Linked DNA regions of Homo sapiens: region 2 is linked to region 1. Evidence: promoter capture Hi-C in 16 types of primary human blood cells and fetal thymus (Javierre and others, 2016). All regions are on one chromosome and are shown on one strand. The core of a region is centred on a gene start or on the middle of the fragment in contact, and the rest is flanking DNA. Distances in the headings are between cores, read along the strand shown. Region 1 holds the start of ABHD17C (abhydrolase domain containing 17C, depalmitoylase). Region 2 has its middle 22 kb from the start of MESD.

Region 1 (2,870 bases), core at 143-2,642:
AGAAAAAATTAAAAGCGAGGTCCTGAAGGTTAATGAAATCAGTATCGGCAATTCATTTAGATGACGGTGCTCAAAATATTCGTCCTGTGGAAAGTCACAACGAAAGGTAAAATTCTCAGGACATCTGTGAGTTAAAACAACAGACCCAGCGTAGGGATTGTGCCAACCTCCCAGTCTCTAGCTGCCCTGCTGGCAGTCCAGGAAGGGTATCTCCTGTCAGTTCCTGAAAGGGAATTCTTCAGCTGCCAAATCAGGCGGGAAAAAGGAAGTATAGAAGGCTCTGTGGAAACTGGCACCAGAGCACAGTTTCAAGGCACCGAGAGTTATATTTGAAAAATCATGTAAAGGTGGCTGCCAAGATTACAGTAGATTTAAAGCAGTATAAGAATCGTTCATGACTAAGACCACTGAAAAATCCTGGACCCAAAACAACTCTAGAGACACAAACACTGTAAACGATACCTAGTATATACTTACTACCGGAAAATCTGCCACACGTGGGATTAGAAATGACAACCTCAACATGGTTTGTTGCTAAATACAGTACCCTCCTGTTCTAACAGCTGACTTTTATAGATACAGAAATGTACTAAGGGTAAAACCATGCCCTTAGAAAGGAAACGCTGTTGCTACCTATACAGAAACAGCCTCTCCTAATAAGAAACACACTGATGACCACCCTATCCCACAACCCCGGTACCCCTTACGGTGCTGAGAACTTTTGGTACTGAGCCAGTTCAGAAAGCAGCACACACGAGAGCCAAATATTTCGGGCACATTCCAACTCTTGTCCACCCCTTAGTTTCCTTTTCAGTAGACTCCCAAGAACCTCCATCCACGGGAGAAACCTGGATTTGGGGGAGGGAATCCCAGGGGGAGGGGAGGGGAGCGGTCCACCCCGGGACACATGCACCCCCTCCAGGGTCCCCTCTGCAGATCGGCCCAGCTGTCCGGGCGCAGAGCCCCCAGCCCCGGCACCCAGCTTCTCCGGGCCCCGGAGCCGCCTGGAAGCCCCCGTCGGCCGCAGGTCGAGAAGGTGCTTCCCAGGCCGGGGAAGGTGCCCGCGCCCTTGCCCGCAGCGCCCCGCCCCGATGCCCGGCTCTGCGCCGCGTCCCAGCGGCGGCGCCGCCGCGCGGTAACCCGGAAGTGGCGGCGGCGGCGGCGGCGGCGGCGGGCGTGCGGGAGCGGGAACGGGAGCGGGGGGCGGCGCGCACGAGCCGGCCATGGACGCCGCCGCCGGCTTTGTGTGCCGCGCGCGGGCCCGGGCCGCCCGCGCCTCGCCTGGGTTCCGGGGCCGCCGCTGACCCGCCCGGGCTCCGAGCGCCGCGCCCGCCGGGCCGGCCCCGCCTCCTGCCCTCCTCCGCCTCCGCCTCCTCCTGCCGCCGGGCGGGCGGGCTGCAGCCGCCCTCCGCGCTCGCCTGCCAGCTCCCTCGCCGCGCGTCCGTCCTCCGTCCTCCCGGGCCAGCCAGCCAGCCAGCCAGCCGGGCCGGCGGCGGGCACCAGGCCGTCCCGATGCCCGAGCCAGGCCCCAGGATGAACGGCTTCTCGCTGGGTGAGCTGTGCTGGCTCTTCTGCTGCCCGCCCTGCCCGAGCCGCATCGCCGCCAAGCTGGCCTTCCTGCCGCCCGAGCCCACCTACACGGTGCTGGCGCCGGAGCAGCGCGGCGCCGGCGCGTCCGCCCCGGCCCCGGCCCAGGCTACCGCCGCCGCCGCCGCGGCCCAGCCGGCACCGCAGCAGCCCGAGGAGGGCGCGGGCGCGGGGCCCGGTGCGTGCAGCCTGCACCTCAGCGAGCGCGCCGACTGGCAGTACTCGCAGCGCGAGCTGGACGCCGTCGAGGTCTTCTTCTCGCGCACGGCCCGGGACAACCGGCTCGGCTGCATGTTCGTGCGCTGCGCGCCCTCCAGCCGCTACACGCTGCTCTTCTCGCACGGCAACGCCGTGGACCTGGGCCAGATGTGCAGCTTCTACATTGGCCTCGGCTCCCGCATCAACTGCAACATCTTCTCCTACGACTACTCGGGATACGGCGTCAGCTCGGGCAAGCCCTCCGAGAAGAACCTCTACGCCGACATCGACGCCGCGTGGCAGGCGCTGCGCACCCGGTGAGCCTGCCGGGGTCGCCAGGCCTGACTTCCAGCTGTGGGGAGGCGGGGTGGGGGTCTCTTGGGGCCCCTGGGGCGGCCTGCCAGGAGAGGGGCCCCTCCTCCGGGGCTGAGGGCCAGCGGAGAGCCCCTTGGCCGCCGTAAATTCGCTTTTCTTGTCCCACCCTGGCTTGCTCCCACCCTCTCCAAAAACCGCGCCAGCCTTCAGGTTCCTGGAGAGCTCGGACTCAGAGAATTTTGCCTGCTTTGGCTCGCCTGTGTGTCGCCGGCCCACCGGCTGGGTCTTTTGTGGCTCCGGTCACCGCGAGTGGCAGAGTGTGGGTGCTTAAGTACCGGGCAGAAAGAAACAACTTGGTTCGAGTTTCGTTTGTACGAGCTGAAGTGACCTTGGGCAAGGCACATGGGTTTCTAGACTCAGTTTCCTTCCCTGTAAAGTCAGTGGGCGAGACAGGATGGCCTCTAAAAGACTTTCTGGTTGTAAAGTGCGGGCAGGACAATGTCTGGGCAACCTTGGAAACAGCTGGAGCGTCAGGTGGAGCGGGGAGTTTGCCTCCTGGTGGGGCAAAGTAGTGGCACTGTGGGGCAGGAAGTTAGCTGGTAGCTGTGGGCCTGGCACCTTCCACACGGCCTCCATAACAGTCCAGGATAAGTTTGAAACTTGCAGGGGCTGGGAAATCTCTGACCTTAAATTAGCATTCACAGAAGGACTGAAAAGTGTTTAGGGTGGGCCATCTGTGAGCCAGGCACAAACTGGGGGCATGGTTTAGG
Region 2 (2,870 bases), core at 113-2,612, 270 kb after region 1:
TGCACACACACACAAACCAAGCTTCCACCCCTCCTGCTGTGCCACTGCCCCCAGCTTCCAGGCTGCCTCTGTGTCCACTCATGCCTGCTCAAATCTCAGCTTAGTGGCCACCTGCTCCAGGAAGCTTTTCTCTGGCCTCCCTTGGAAAATCCCTCTGTTGCAAGCTACAAGCACCTTGCATAGTTGCCACTGTACACTGTGGGTGTGTGTATTTGATTCAGGCCCTCTTCTTCCATACCCTGCTGCCTCTCTGCTCCACAACCTTTGCACCTCTTCTCTTCCTCCTGATTCTGCATCTCAAAAGCCCAAATAACTGGCTTGAAGTGGCCAACTCCTCCTTATTGGGCAGTTCCGCTGGTTAAATTCCTCTGGGAAATGCTGGCCCATTCCAACTGAGGCCCATCGAGGTGATGCGCTCAAGGCATTGATTTTAAAACTAGAAGTAGAAGCCCTTGGCCGGGCGCAGTGGCTCACTCCTGTAATCCTAGCACTTGGGAGGCTTAGGTGAGCAGATCACCTGAGGTCAGGAGTTCGAGACCAGCCTGACCAACATGAAGAAACCCCCGCCTCTACTAAAAATACAAAATTAGCTGGGCATGGTGGTGCATGCTTGTAATCCCAGCTACTTGGGAGGCTGAGGCAGGAGAATCACTTGAACCCGGGAGGTGGAGGTTGTGGTGAACCGAGATCACACCATTGCACTCCAGCCTGGGCAACAAGAGTGAAACTCCATCTCAAAAAAAGAAAAAGAAAAAAGAAAAGAAAAGAAGTAGGAGCCCTCAGGGAGTTTTAATTTAGAGCAAGGACCTCAGAGAATTTGTAAGGAAGCTTCTATCCTAAGGGAGTCAGGGACCTCCTTTGCATTAGAATAAGGATCCCTATTGTCTTGTTTCTTCCAGACCCTGGCATGTAAATCCCAGGCCTGGCAGGACTTGCCACCCTGTTTATAGAAGAGGTAAGGCCCAGGGAAAGCAAGTATGGCACTCAATGTCGTCCAACTTGGAGCTGAGGTAGGAGGCATGGATCAAAGGGGCCCCAGTGTTTCTAGGCCTATGGCTGAAGCTCTCTCCTGCAGGAAGAATGCGGGCTGGCCTGAAAAACAGATGCAAGGCAGACCAGATGTCCCTGGGCATTCTTCACATTCCACCAACTGCAGCCCTCCTTGGCTGAGAGCTGCCAAGTCTGGGCTTCCAATTCATCAGCTTGGAAACTTCACCTCAGAAACTTCGGCAGACTTCTCTGGAGAAAACAAAAATTGCCCTAGGTCTGCCAGGGAACAGTGGTCAAAGATTTAAAATTGCAAGTTGGGCTGCTGAGATCCAGAATTTGACAAGCCCAGGTTTAAGCTGATTCAACAAGATCTATGGAGAGTTGGCCAAGTGGCCCCAACTGCAGGCTCAGGTTTTCCCAGATGCTGGATCAAGTGGAAAGGGGTCCAACATCTCAAGTTTCTGGCTTGTGACACTTGCGTGGGACCTCCTGAAATCTGCCTACCAAAAATTTCCTTGTACCAGCAAGCAGCATGGTCAAACTGCAGTCTCCTGCAGACCGCTTGGACTCTGGCAGCTCTGCCCCTTTCAGGGCAAACCATCTCACCTGAGAGCAGGTCCTCAGCCATGCAGGTATCTGAGAGCAGAGCACCAAGGTGGTGGGAACGGCAGATGTTTCTGCCTGGAAGGAAGCTGACCCGCTCTGCTCTGGCATACCCTACACTGGGCAAGGTGGCCATTCTCCTTCTGGAGCAATCTCTGTGGCCCATGTAGAATTCCATCCCAGCCCCTCCCTTAGAGTGTCAAGCCACAGTGAAAACTGCAGTGCCTCCAGAAGAAAACAGCCCAGGCAGGATGTTATCCTGCCTTCTCCTAGCTGTGACTCTCAGCAAGGGGCTTAACCCCTACAAGCTTCTGTCTAGTCACCTGAAGCACAAAACACACACACAAATGATAATAGTTAACATGTACTGAAAGCTCTGTTGGCCAGGCACAGTGGCTCACACCTGTACTCCTTTGGAAGGCCAAGGTGGGAGGATCGCTTGAGCTCAGGAGTTTAAGACCAGCCAAGGTAAAATAGTGAGACCCCACCTCTTTACTTTAAAAATAAAATAAAAAAGAAAGCTGTGTTAAGTGCTTCACAGGGACTTGCTCATTTAATCCTTATAATACTTCTCTGAAATGGGAACTTTTATTAGCACCTACAGGCTTAGATGAGTGAGGTCCTTAAATAACTTGTCCAACATGATACAGCTAATAAAATGCAGAGCTGGGAAGTCCAACACCAGAACTGTGCTTCAAAGGGCCACATAGTAAATGTTAACTAATACCAACCTTGTGGGGTTGTGAAGGGTAAATGAGGTCGGGCACAGTGGTTCACACCTGTAATCCCAACACTTTGGGAGGTCAAGGTGGGAGGATTGCTTGAACCCAGGAGTTCAAGACCAGCCAGGGCAACATAGGGAGACCCTGTCTCTACAAAAAATATTAAAAAATTAGCTGGGTGTGATGGTGCACACCTGTGGTCCCAGCTACCCAGGAGATTGAGGTGGGAGGACCACTTGAGCCTGGAGGTCGAGGCTGCAGTGAGCTGCCATCGTGCCAGTGCACTCCAGCGTGAGCAACAGAGTGAGACCCTAACTGAAAATAAAATGAGAGTAAATGAAATAAAGTATGTAAAGACCTGCACACAGTGGGTAGCATGTCACAGTTAGGTAAGGATGTCCAGAGCTTGCACACAGTAGGCACACTCCATGCTGAAAGACATTGTGTGTCTTTTAATATTCAACCTGTAAATACCAAGAAGGCAGGGACCTTGCCTGCCTTGCTATCTTTATCTCCACTGCCTGCACACTTCCCGAAACTTATTGGTGTTCAGCA

The links. The method cuts DNA at HindIII sites, captures the fragments that hold promoters and counts their contacts. A CHiCAGO score of 5 or more calls a contact.
Region 2: a contact is called between a fragment that was not itself captured here and the fragment with the promoter of ABHD17C in region 1, in 2 of 17 cell types (M1 macrophages and M0 macrophages). The highest score is 6.9, in M1 macrophages.

The regions. Positions count from the first base shown.
Region 1 is chr15:80,693,918-80,696,787 of GRCh38, forward strand. It overlaps ABHD17C (abhydrolase domain containing 17C, depalmitoylase), which reads left to right and starts at 1,393. Exons shown (of 3, transcript NM_021214.2): 1 at 1,393-2,102. The coding sequence starts at 1,513. RefSeq lists silencers at 111-405, 867-1,026, 1,047-1,156, 1,177-1,596, 1,687-1,736 and 1 more and an enhancer at 1,927-1,996. The HindIII fragment of the contact is 4,321 bases long and covers 1-2,870 here.
Region 2 is chr15:80,966,557-80,969,426 of GRCh38, forward strand. It overlaps a transcript of MESD not described here. Among named protein-coding and RNA genes, the nearest start is that of MESD, 22 kb to the right of the region's middle. RefSeq lists an enhancer at 46-561. The HindIII fragment of the contact is 1,073 bases long and covers 827-1,899 here.